Regions from separate parts of the Homo sapiens genome. Here region 2 is linked to region 1. Evidence: promoter capture Hi-C in human tissues and cell types (Jung and others, 2019). All regions are on one chromosome and are shown on one strand. Each heading gives the region's core, a stretch centred on a gene start or on the middle of the fragment in contact. The rest is flanking DNA. Distances are from core to core; before and after follow the strand shown.

Region 1 (6,338 bases), core at 3,839-6,338:
CTCCAACCCCAACCCTAATCTTGAAGGACTGGTTTGACACCTAAACCCAGGGTGCCTGAAAACAATTCTGTTGGATGTTTCAATTTGCTTTAACCACTTTGAGCTGGGTTTGCAGTGTTTGTAACTGAAAGCATCCTAATTCAGGCAAGTGAAAGGGAAGGTGTTTCTTGGTGATGACTTACTCTGGTCCCCTTGAATGCCAAGGAACAGAAACCCCTCCGAGGGAAGGCAATTTAGTACGTGAAGACTCCAGAGACCTGGGTTCTAGACCCTTCTTCCAGGGTTTCCAGTCAATCACTCTCCCTCTCAAGCCCTCCAGAATGAAAAGAATGGGTCCAGATTAGGCCAGGCATGGTGGCTCACACTTGTAATCCCAGCACTTCAGGAGGCCGAGGCAGGCAGATTACCTGAGGTCGGGAGTTCGAGACCAGCCTGGCCAACATGGTGAAACCACGTCTCTACTAAAAATACAAAAGTTAGCCGGGTGTGGTGGTGCATGACTGTAATCCCAGCTACTCAGGAGGCTGAGGCAGGAGAATCACTTGAACCTGGGAGGCAGAGATTGCAGTGAGCTGAGATGGTGTCACTGCACTCCAGCCTGGGTGACACAGCAAGACTCCATCTCAAAAAAAAAAAAAAAAAAAAAAAAAGAATGGCTCCAGATTAGGTGATCTACAAGGGTGCTACCCGAAGTATCTGCAGACTGGGGCTGCATGGTAAGTACAGCATACACAACACAAGCCCAGAAATTTCTACTTTTTCAGGGATGACAACCTGACATCCCTGCTCCATCCGAGCTTGTGCTGAACACACCATCTTGCTGAAAACGGTTTAGACGAGCCTAGTATTATCTAGCCGACAGGATTAGTCACGTGCAGCACAACCTGTATACAGGGCTGATCCAGCACAGACTAGAAACATTAAATGCTTGGTCTGTTTCCAGGAAGTTTTGAGAGGCGCTGCTCAGCAAGACCCTTCCCCTAGCGAAGGATCGTGAAAACAGGACCTCCCACCATCAACAGATGCCAATCAAACGTTACTCATTCCAGGCCGGGTGCAGTGGCTCACAACTGTAATCCCAGCACTTTGGGAGGCCGAGGCAGGTGGATCACCTGAGGTCGCGAGTTTGAGATCAGCCTGGCTAACATCGTGAAACCACGTTTCTATTAAAACTACAAAACAATTAGCAGGGCGTGGTGGCGCGTGCCTGTAATCCCAAATCCTCGGGAGGCTGAGGCACGAAAATCACTTGAACCCAGGAGGTGGAGGCTGCAGTGAGCTGAGATCACGCCACTGCACGCCTGGGCAACAGAGTGAGACTCTGTCTCAAAAAATAAAAAAAGGTTACTCATTCCAGGCAACAGCAGTATACAGGGGATACAGAAAGAAACAAAGACCGGTGGCTCTGCCCCAACAAGCATATGGGGAGGAGAAATACTAAACAAATATTCACATGTGACTGCTCTGGTGGGAAAGTTTGGGTGTCCTGGGAATACACACTGCAGAGACCCAACATGGCATGTGCATGGGGAAGGGTGGGAGGTAAAAAAAAAGCCTTTCCAGCCGGGTGCCGTCGCTCAAGTCTGTAATCCCAGCACTTTGGGAGGCCAAGGAGGGCAGATCACCTGATGTCAGGAGTTCGAGACCAGCCTGGCCAACATGGCGAAACCCCATCTCTACTAAAAATACAAAAATTAGCTGGGCATGGTGGTGGGTGCCTGTAATCCCAGCTAATAGGGAAGCTGAGGCAGGAGAATTGCTTGAACCCAGGAAGCGGAGATTGCAGGGAGCTGAGATGGTGCCACTGCACTCCAGCCTGGGCAACAGAGAGAGGCTCCATCTCAAAAAAAAAAACAACAAAAAAACAAAAAACAGGCTTTCTGAGGAAGTGCCAGAGCTCCAAGTTCTGACCTCAAACATGGGCAGTTTAACAAATGTGAGCTCAAATCCTGCCTCTGTCCTTCTGCACAGGTGACCTGGTGACCTGGGACCATCCCTGCACTATCTATGTGCATTCCCTCTTGTGTCAATAGGGGTGTCAGGCAGCTAGGAAGACCTTAGCACACTGCCTGGCACGCATGACGCTCTCAACAAATGCAGCCACTATGGTATTACAGTTAAGCCAGGCAAAGAGGATGGAGGGCAAAGAGCAGCTCCCACAGGGGAAGCAGCAGGTGCAGCACCTGGGCTGGAAGGAGACTGGACACAGCAAAGCAGGAAGCTCCTGACAGAGCACTGGTGCCCTGCCTGGCATCCCTGTCACTGATGCTCCTGCCACTTTGTGCCAAATCTCCCGCCCACTGGAGCTCTGATTCGGATCTGTACAGTGCAACTCTAGGGCCTGGTAGTGCCTTCCACGTGGGGGTTAAGTAACACATGGCTGCTGAGTCAATGTATGAATGGATGGATCAATGGATAGACGGACAGATGGTCTAGTGATTGAGTGCACAACCGCTAGAGTCAGAAAAACCCAGGTTCTAATCCTGATTCTCATTGATTCCCTATGTGGCCACAAAAAAGTTGAGCCACATCTCTGACCCTCAGTTTCCTGATCTGTAAAATGGGAAAGTGACCATTATCTTTTAAGAATGGAGGGAGAATGCAACACTAACAGGAAGCACCTAACTGGGTCAGCACCCAAGGGCAGGCCCCCAAAAAGGGGAGCTGCTGGAGTGTCTTCAAAATCTCAGCTCGGCCAGGCGTGGTAGCTCATGCCTGTGATCCCAGCACTTTGGGAGGCTGAGGTGGGAGGATCGTTTGAGACCAAGAGTTGGACACCAGCCTGGTTAACACAGCGAGATACCTATCTCTACAAAAAACATTTAGAAAATTAGCCAGGCGTGGTAGTAAGTGCCTGTAGTCCCAGCTACTTGGGAGCCTGAGGCAAGAGGATCTCTTGAACCCAGGAGCTCAAGGCTGCAGTGAGCTATGACTGTGCCGCTGCACTCCAGCCTGGGCAACAGAGCAAGACCCTGTCTCTAAAAGAAGAAAACCTCTGTTCCTCAGGGTTCCCCCATCCTTGGGCAGTGCTCCATCATGGCATCCACCGCCTTGACTGTGACGCCGCCTCCTCAAATGGCCTTCCCTTCCACACCCCAGCAGGAGGGCAACCCCATCACCATCCTGTGACTCCCTGCCTCTGTCACCTAACGTCACCTCTGTCACTATCTATTCCCTGCTTAGAAACCATGTGTCCCACCCCATGGTAAGTTCCACTCTATCTGTCTTACCCCTGCTGTACCCCAGCACCTAGCACAGTAGCCAGCATGCGTTAGGTACTCAAATATCTGGTGAATGAAAGAATTAATGAATGGATACAATAGTCATGTACAGATCCCCTTAAGACTCCAAATAGTTACACAATCAAATTCAGCAGGAAGTGTAAATTCTGGGGCCTCCAGGGCCCAGGCAGATGATAGACATATGAAGGGGTTAGGGCTGGGATGAGGCAGAGTCTACAGGCCCCACCTCCTCAGAGTCCTTCTCAACTACACTCAATAGATGCAAACAGCTCTCCTGAATCTTGAGTTGCAGAATGTTCCAATTTTTCAAGAAAAATCAGACATCTTAATTTTTATATAAAATCTCCTGATTAAAAATCTAATGTTGGCATCTAATTTTAAAAGTGGCAGGTCTGCAGCACTCTGAAAGCAACAGCTATGTGTGAGGTTGTTCATTCATTCATTCACAGGCATCGGAGGACGGGTACGGCAAGAACAAAGGATGGGACAAGCCAAGCTAGGGCCTCTTCTCTGAAGTTTACAGTCATATGTGAGGGGCAGACATTAGCCAGATGACAGCAAACATAACAGAACATTATAACGGTAGGAAGTGATGTGAGTGCTCACATCAGGGAGGTCTGGTAGGAGAAAGAAATAGATGACAGAGGTAGGCAGAAAGGCTAGCACATTCTCAGTCATCTCCCACTCACACACACGCTCAATTAAAGAGAAAACTTGTGGCTCACGCCTGTAATCCCAGCTCTTCGGGAGGCCAAGGCAGGGATCACTTGAACCCAGGAGTTCGAGACCGGCCTGGGCAACGTGGAGAAACCCCATCTCTACAAAAAATACAAAATTTAGCCTGGCATGGTGGCACACACCTGTAATCCCAGCTACTAAGGGGGCTGAGGTGGAAGGATCACTTTAGCTCAGGAGGTCGAGTCTGCAGTGAGCCATGATCGCACCACTGCACTCCAACCTGGACAACAGAGCAAGACCTTGTGTCAAAAAAAAAAAAAAAAAAAAAAGAGAAAGAAAGAAAACGAAGGTAGGGCTTGGCGAAACAGAACTGTCCTCTGAAGTGGACCATGCAATTCCAGGATCCAATTAGACCTTACCTGTGCTGGGCTCCCTGGACTCCTCCCCAAAGCCCTGCGTGTCCTTCTTTTTCCTACAAAGAGGAGCAGACAGTGTCCACTTTCAATGGGACATAGAGTCCTCAGCCCCCTGACCCCCAGCTCAGAAGGCCACAAACACTAAGTTTCAGCCCTGGCCCTGCCGCAAACTTGCTGTGTGACCTCTGACGTTCAATACCCTTCTCTGGGCCCCCACTGCCCGGACAATCACAGCCAGGTCAGCAGCCACCGACCGTTTACAAAGTGGCCCGACAGTGCGGGTGCAGGGCGGAAGGTCCGCGGTGGGGCTATTTCTTGGGGGATGGGGCTTAAGCTCTCCAGGAAGGTGAACAGAGGGACAACCAAGGAACGGAGAGTATGGGTTTAAGGTCTCTCGGGGGGTGGGGGGCGAGGAAGATAAACCAGGCTGGAGGCGTGCCCAGAGGGCGGATAGGGCGGGGCCTGCGGCTTGGGGGCGGGGCCTGAGAAGTGCGCCGAGATCACGCTTATGAGGGCGGGGCTACGGGTTCCCCGGATGGAGCCGCAGTCCGGCCGCGACCTACTCACAGCTTAAAGTTCAGCACCGCCCCGGCATTCATCAGCAACGTCCTGCAGAGGGAGAATTACAGTTACTAGGGGCGCCCCCGCGTCCTGCCTGGCTCTCTCTTCCCAGCCTCTGGTCCCCCTAATTACCCGAACAGCAGGATGTCTCCGATCATCGTTACGGCCGAAGCGTCCGTCAGAACCGGAAGCGGAAGCCCCAGGGAGGGAGGGGAGAGGAGCACAAGCCGACCAATCCTAAAGCAACAGTGGCGAGGGCTGGGCCAATCGAAGGTCAAGGCTGGGAGGGTCCCGCCCTCTGCAGGCCAGACCCCCTTAGGGGAGCGCGAGCGCCCCACCTCGCTGGGGAGGCCCCGAGAGCCAGAATGGGAGGAGCGGGGTCTCCTGGGGGCGGGATTGGGTCACGCGTTCGAAGCGTGCCGCGCATGCGTGAGGTCTCGATGCCGTAGGGTTAGCTGGGCAGCAATTCCTACTCACTTTCTGGGGTCCCAAATTGGGCTTCTGGACAAAAGGAATCCTTTGACTCCTGAGCTGCACAGGGTGCGGGGTCCTGACGCAGTGGGGTCCCTAGAAACGGGTGCCCCAACCAACTGGGCTCTAAAATGAGATCCTCCTGGGCCCCATGGGGAACGGGGGTTCCCACTGAGCTGCCCCCCACAAGACGTCCTGATTTGCAGAGCCCCACCGGAGACGGGGTTCCTGATCGAACGGACCCTATGGGGCAGAAAAGTCTTGACGGGGCTCCACAGAGGACCGAGGTCCTAACCTATCTCCACGGGGAACAGGGGTTCTGATTCATGGGGTCCCACCATGGCGTAGGGGTCCTCACTGGGCTCCACCGAAGATCGGGGTCCTAATTGAGCCCACGGGGACAAAGTCCTGGCCGATCCGGCCCCCTGGGAACGGGCGTCCCGCGTGGGTGGGCTCCGTGAGGGACGGGCCCCCAGAACAGGCAGCTCCCCAGCCTCCCTCGCCTTGCACGGGTGCCCCGCACCCCGCCTCGCTGGGCGGAACGGGGTAGCGATGGCAGGAGGGTCAACGCCTGGGACGCCCGACCGTCCAGCTGCGTCCGTGGTGCTGGGCGTCCCCACCACCTGTCCCGGGGTGGGCCGTCGCCCCTCCTCTCCCGCGGGGGCCGGGCCTGGGGTGGCGCCTGGCGGGCGGGGGCGGGCCCAGCTGCGGGGGCGCAGTCGCCGGGCCGCGGGCGGCGGGACGGACGAGGCCGGGGCCCCGGGTGGCACCCGGCAGGCGGGCAGGCGGGCGCCATGGAGCTGCTCTCGGCGCTGAGCCTGGGCGAACTGGCGCTCAGCTTCTCGCGGGTGCCGCTCTTCCCCGTCTTCGACCTCAGTTACTTCATCGTCTCCATCCTCTACCTCAAGTATGAGCCAGGTGAGCCGGGGCGGGGGGCTGGAGGGGACCGGCAGCGGGTGGCGCGGGCCGG
Region 2 (6,653 bases), core at 2,497-4,996, 1.3 Mb after region 1:
CCGTGGAGAAACTCATTCCTAGAATAGTAAACGAAATTAACCCTACACAGAAGGGCCCTAATGAGATCATAACTGAAGCTCCAGTCAGCATTAACTTACCTTCCAGCCACAGGCAGAATCACCTTAAGCAGATAGAGACACAAGGGTCTCAGATGTGCACACTATTTTTTTTTTTTTTGAGACAGAGTCTTGCTCTGTCACCCAGGCTGGAGTTCAGTGGTGCAGTCTCAGCTCACTGCAATCTCTGCCTCCCGGGTTCAAGCGATCCTCCTGCCTCAGCCTCCTGAGTAGCTGGGATTACAGGCACACACCACCATGCCCAGCTACTTTTTGTATTTTTGGTAGAGACGGGGTTTCACCCTGTTGGCCAGGCTGGTCTTCAACTCCTGACCTCAGATGATCTGCCTTCCTTGGCCTCCCCAAGTGCTGGGATTACAGGCGTGAGCCACCGTGCCTGACCTCAGATGGGTGCACTTTTGCTGAGTCCAGGGTACTGATTGGTGGCAGGGAAGGTCTCAGCCCAGTCTCAGTAGGACATCCAGTCCTGTTGATGTCAAATACCACCAGAAAAACAGCTGCAGTGAAACCCAGCTGGGTTTATGGATTAATGCATTGAAGGAAGACACACCAGAAGGGGTTCTGTTTATCTCAGAAAGAGAAAGTGAGAAGGAGCGTGTTACAGAACTAGGGCAACTGTGGGGTGATTCGAGGAGAGTTCAAGGGAGTGGGATTCTGCCCTGGATTGTATGCAAACAGCTAGTGGGACAATTCTCTAAGTATTTTAATAATCTCTTTTTTTTTTTTTGAGATGGAGTCTTGCTCTGTCCCCCAGGCTGGAGTACAGTGGTGTGTTCTCCGCTCACTGCAAGCTCTGCCTCCCGGGTTCACGCCATTCTCCTGCCTCAGCCTCCTGAGCAGCTGGGACTACAGGCGCCCACCACCACACCCGGCTAATTTTTTGTATTTTTAGTAGAGATGGGGTTTCACCGTGTTAGCCAGGATGGTCTCGATCTCCTGACCTCGTGATCTGCCTGCCTTGGCCTCCCAAAGTGCTGGGATTACAGGCGTGAGCCACCGCGCCCGGCCTTTAATAATCTTTTTACCTAGAAGGCGGGGGAACCTGCTGGGAATTGGCGAAAACTAGCAGTCACGCCCTTTGGCCAGGAGATGGGGAGGTTTGGCCATTTTTGTGGTTTGGACAATGCTCTTGTATTCACCTGTGCTAAGACTCGATTACGGAAGGGTTTTGTTTTTCTGCGGCCAAGTGTGACTGGTCTGAGTGTCCCTGTCTGATGTGGACATTCCGTGAAATTGGTTTGGTCAATCAAAAAACTCTACAGTTTAGCTGTGACTGCCAGGCCAACTGCTAGCTGACTGTGTGTGGTCCAGGGCTACTTTTATCTTCCTCACTTTATATTCACCTCCTCACCTTTGCATATACTGTTCCCTCTGCCCAGAACACCTTTCCCTCTCTTTTTCACTCAGCTCTTTCCTTCTCAAGCTTCAGAGCTCTCCTTAAATGCCACCACCTCTGAGAAGCCCTCTTTGATCACCCAGGCTGTGGGCCTCCACAACCCTATTTCAACCCCAGGCACATCTTTTAGTCACAATTACGATTATTATTTTATTGTTATTATTATTATTATTACTTTTGAGACAGAGTCTTACTCTGTCACCCAGGCTGCAGTGCAGTGGCGTGATCTCAGCTCACTGCAACCTCTGCCTCCCAGGTTCAAGCGATTCTCCTGCCTCAGCCTCCCAAGTAGCTGGGATTACAGGCGCATGCCACCACGCCTGGGTAATTTTTAGATGGGGTTTCACCATGTTAGCCAGGCTGGTCTTGAACTACTCACCAAGTGATCTGCCCGCCTCAGTCTCCTGAAGTGCTGGGATTACAGCTATAAGCCACCACGCCTGGCCTTTATTATTATTATTTATTTATTTATTTTGAGATGGAGTTGCACTCTGTAGCCCAGGCTGGAGTGCAATGGCACGATCTCGGCTCATTGCAATCTCTGCCTCCTGGGGTCAAGTGATTCTCCTGCCTCAGCCTCCCAAGTAGCTGGGATTACAGGCATGTGCCACCACGCCCAGCTAATTTTTGTGTTTTTAGTAGAAACAGGGTTTCACCATGTTGGTCAGACTGGTCTCAAACTCCTGACCTCAGGTGATCTGCCTGGCTCGGCCTCCCAAAGTGCTAGGATTACAGGCGTGAGCCACCATGCCTGGCCTTTATTAGTATTTTTTAAGAGAGGTTCCTTCACCCAGGCTGGCTGGAGTGCAGTGGCGCTATCATACCTCACTGCACCCTCCAACTTCTGGGCTCAAGTGATTCTCTTGAATGGGAGGATGAGCATGCCACCACGCCCAGCTAATGTTTTTATCTTCTGTCGAGATGGGGTCTCATAATGTTGCCCAGGCTGCTTTCAAACACCTGGCCTCAAGCGATCCTCCCACCTTAGCCTTCCAAAGGGTTGGGATCACAGGCATGTGCCACTGCGACCAGCCAGGATAATAATCTTTCATGTGATTTTCCGACTTTAAGCCCCCTGCACCCAGAGACCTTTCTGTCTCATGCCTGAAGGGAAGGAACTGGCCACGGAAAAACCTGGGAAATTCCTGGGGGAACTCCCTGAGGCAAGACTGCGCCTGGCAATTTGTAAGAAGGGGGCTGGTGCGACCTGAGCAGAGAGCTAATGGGAGGGTGAGGGAAGCCAAGGGAGATGGGGTGGGAGGTGGGAGGAGTCTTGCGGGACAATGGGAACCCAGGGGAGGCGTTAGAGCAGGGGAGGTGCATCGCGCACTGGGATTTAGGTCCCAGCAAGGTCGCTGGGGGGATGCCTTTTAGGGAATGGACTCTGTGGTCAACTACTCCTACCTGAACTGCCCCCAAAGCATTTGCTTTTCCCTCTCCACAGTCAGGACCAGTGTAACCTTAGACCCCTAATACTGCCATTTTTACTGTTGAGAACACCGAGAAGTAGTAAATGCAGAAAATCTAAAGTATAGTGCCTAAGACAAATTGGCGCCTCAAACCTAATTTCTAAATAAAATTAATAAATAATATTGCAGAAGTGGGGAGCAGGTCAGCAATCCAGGAAGAGGCACTGGCAGGAGCAAGAGACGGAATTTGAGCCTACTCGCGGTTATGAGCCTACTCGCGGTTACATTTTGGCCAAACTCAATTCCTGGTCTCTCTGAGCCTCGGTTTCCCTACCTGGACTGCGCGGTGTGTGTTAATTTCTCTGCCCCATTTATCTCCCCTCTCCTAGCCCCGCCCCAGCGTCACCAGTGGGACGCAGAGACTCAGGACTAGGAAAGCACTTTTAAAGCGTTAAGGGATTGCGAAGAGCTACGGAGAGGCTTCCTCAGGGCTATACTGGGTCCACCTCCCCTCATGGACCGCGGGCGCGCTCTGGCGGCCGGGCCGCTCCAGGCTGAAGCCGCCGGACCACGTGTGTAGTCGCAGCTGCCATCTTTCATCCGGGCATCGGCCATCTTGGTAAAGGCAATGTTCTAGATTTTCGCCTCTGCCCGCCCCTCCTGGTTCATCAACATATTAAATGAGCGTAGGGAATGAGGGCGTATTAAGTGTCCTCTTTTTGAAGAGACAAAGAAGTGGCTGACTACCCTGGCTTGGGTCCGAGGCCCAGCCATCTTTTTCTTTACCAAAATGGCGGCGGTACTGAGGCGCAATGAGTGCGCGCCGCCAGGAGCTCAGCGCGCAGGCCCCATGATGACGTCACGGAGGCGCGACCGGGCCGGCGCTGGGGTAAGAAGGTAGGAGCGTCTGCGGCGCGGGCGGAACCCGGGTTCGGGGAGCAGAGGCGCGGGGCGGGGGCTGCTTGGCCTGGGACCATCCCCTGGGAAGGCTGGAGGAGGGGTGCTGGGAGGCAGGAGCACTTCTGGCGTCCAGTCTGAACCGCACCTAGTTGGGGGCGATGCCCATTTCCAGACTAGACGATTGAAGCCCGACGCGACAGCATGTTCGAGGCCACCTGGCCCCGGACTGCCCCTAGGCAGCTTCTGGTCTCGAGAGGGACAGAGTTGGGCGCGGACTCCCCCGGCCTCTTGTAGGGGGATTAGTGGTGGGGGACTTCAAAAGGGATAGCCGGGAGGGCTGCTTAGAGGAGGCATTGTTGAATTTTGTATTCTGTTATTTTACCTTCACATCCGTGGGGTCTTAATCCCCATGGGTCTTGATTCGCTTCTAAGTGTGCCCCTCGCCCAGCCTGAGCCACTCCCTGGGTACCGCCTGGGCTCCCAGCTCCTGCCATCTGGGGAGTCCACCTCCTCACTAACCCCAGAGGGCTTGTGTGACCCATAGATTGGGCTTCCCGGCTCTAACGCCCTCCACACCTTCCCATCTCCCTGGAATACAAATCGCCCCCTTTTCCAGCCTACCTCCTGCATCCCGCGTGCAGGCTGCGCTCTCCCCCACTCATTCAGACTTTTCCTTAGATGTCTCCTTTAGGAAGCCCTTTGACCCAGGCTGGGTCAGAAGCCCTCTCCGGGCTTCCCCGGCGCCCTGCGTGTCCTTATTAGGACTCTGATTGCATGTGTTGGCTCTTCTCTGGGAGTCCCATGCAGGCAGAAAGCTCATTTGTGCCACCTCTTTCCCCAGCATCGCACACGTATTAGGTGCCCAGTACATATTTATTGAATGACGTGTGCAAGTGAGTGAGTGTTTACTACACAGAGAAAAGTGTCTGTATTTCCAGCTTGGGCTGTCATAACTAATACCACAGACTGGGTGGCTTAAACAGCAGAAATTGCCAGGCACTGTGGCTCACACCTGTAATCCAGGCACTTTGAGAGGCCGAGGCAAGCGGATCACTTGAGGTCAAGAGTTTGAGACCAGCCTGGCCAACATAGTGAAACCCCGTCTCTACTAAAAATACAAAAATCAGATAGGCATGGTGGCACATGCCAACATGGTGAAACCCCATCTCTATAAAAATACAAAAATTAGCCGGGCGTGGTGGCAGGTGCCTGTAATCCTAGCTGCTTGGGAGGCTGAAACAGGAGAATTGCTTGAACCGGGTGGGTGGAGGTTGCAGTGAGCCGAGATTGTGCCACTGCATTCCAGCCTGGGTGAAAGAGCAAAACTCCGTCTCAAAACAAAAAAAAGCCCCAACGTGGAAACAGCCCAAATGTCTAGCTGTGGACAATGGATAAACAAAATGTGGCGTATCCATGCAGTGGAGGAATATTCAGCCATAAAAAGGAACGAAGGGCCAGGCGCAGTGGCTCAGGCCTGTAATCCCAGCACTTTGGAAGGCCGAGGCGGGAGGATCACTTGAGCCCAGGAGTTCAAGGCCAGCCTGGGCAACATAGTCAGACCCTGCCTTAAAAAAAAAAAAAAAAAGCTAGGCATGGTGGCCTGCACCTATAGTCCCAGCTACTTAGGAGGCTCAGGTGGGAGGATCACTTGAGCCCAGGAGGTCAAGGCTGCAGTAAGCCGAGATTTCGCCACTGCACTCCAGCCTGGGCGACAGAGTGAGACCCTGTCTCCAAAATAAATAAATAAATGTACTCTCACACTGTGTGGCCTTTTGTGTCTGGCTTCTTTCACTTAGTATTGTGTTGTTGAGGTTCAACCACATTGTATCATGTATGTATTGGTGCCTTGTTTCCTTGTTTCCTTTTTTTTTTTTTCTTTTAAGAGACAGGGTCTTGTTCTGTTGCCCAGGCTGGAGTGCAGTGGCACAATCATAGCTCACTGTGGCCTCAGCCTCCTACGCTCAGGCGATCCTTCCACCTCAGCCTCCTAAGTAGCTGGAACTACAGGCACAAGCCACTGTGCCTAATTATTTTTTATTTTGTAGAGACGGACTCTTGCTATGTTGCCCAGGCTGGTCTTGAACTCCTGGCCTCAAGCAATCCTCCTGCCTCAGCCTCCCAAAGCACGGGGATTACAAACGTGAGTGATCGCACCCGGCCTGTGATTCCATTGATATGGACTGAAATGTCCAGAACAGGGAAAGCCACAGAGACAGAAAGCAGATTGATGGTTACCAGGGGCTAGGGGAAGAGGAATAGGGAGTGACTGCTGATGGTGATGTGGCCTCTTTTGGGGGGTGCAAGTGTTCTGGAACTAGACAGAGGTGGTATTTGCACAACGCTGTGAATATACTTAAACACTGAATTGTACACCTTTTTTTTTTTTTGAGATGGAGTCTCGCTCTGTCGCCTAGGCTGGAGTGCAGTGGTGTGATCTCAGCTCATTGCAACCTCCGCCTCCCGGGTTCAAGTGATTCTCCTGCCTCAGCCTCCCGAGTAGCTGGGATTATAGGCATGTGCCACCACACCCAGCTTTTTGGTTTTTTTTGAGAGTGAGTCTCACTCTGCCGCCTAGGCTGGAGTGCAGTTGCACGATCTCGGCTCACTGCAACCTCTGCCTCCCAGGTTCAAGCGGCTTTCCTGCCTCAGCCTCCTGAGTAGCTGGGATTAAAGGTGTCCGCCACCACACCCAGCAATTTTTATTTATTTTTAGTTGACACGGGGTTTCACCATGTTGACTAGACTGGTTTTGAACTCCTGACCTCAGGTGATCCGCCCACCTTGGCCTCCCAAAGTGCTAGGATTACAGGCGTGAGCCACTGTGCCTGGCCGGAATTGTCCACCTTTAAATTGATTCTTTTTCCTTTCAT

Evidence for each region. The method cuts DNA at HindIII sites, captures the fragments that hold promoters and counts their contacts. A contact is called where the count stands out against the background at its distance.
Region 2: a contact is called between the fragment with the promoter of CCDC124 here and the fragment with the promoter of SMIM7 in region 1, in 1 of the 25 tissues and cell types used here (dorsolateral prefrontal cortex).

The regions. Positions count from the first base shown.
Region 1 is chr19:16,655,056-16,661,393 of GRCh38, forward strand. SMIM7 (small integral membrane protein 7) reads right to left here and starts at 5,089. Exons shown (of 5, transcript NM_024104.4): 1 at 5,030-5,089; 2 at 4,904-4,945; 3 at 4,340-4,392. The coding sequence starts at 5,055. TMEM38A (transmembrane protein 38A) reads left to right here and starts at 6,084. Exons shown (of 6, transcript NM_024074.4): 1 at 6,084-6,286. The coding sequence starts at 6,163. RefSeq lists silencers at 5,682-5,881, 5,902-6,151. The HindIII fragment of the contact is 23,986 bases long and covers 1-6,338 here.
Region 2 is chr19:17,929,269-17,935,921 of GRCh38, forward strand. It overlaps CCDC124 (coiled-coil domain containing 124), which reads left to right and starts at 3,747. Exons shown (of 5, transcript NM_001136203.2): 1 at 3,747-3,780. RefSeq lists enhancers at 597-666, 2,825-3,363, 3,510-3,569, 3,590-3,779 and a silencer at 3,860-3,909. The HindIII fragment of the contact is 29,527 bases long and covers 1-6,653 here.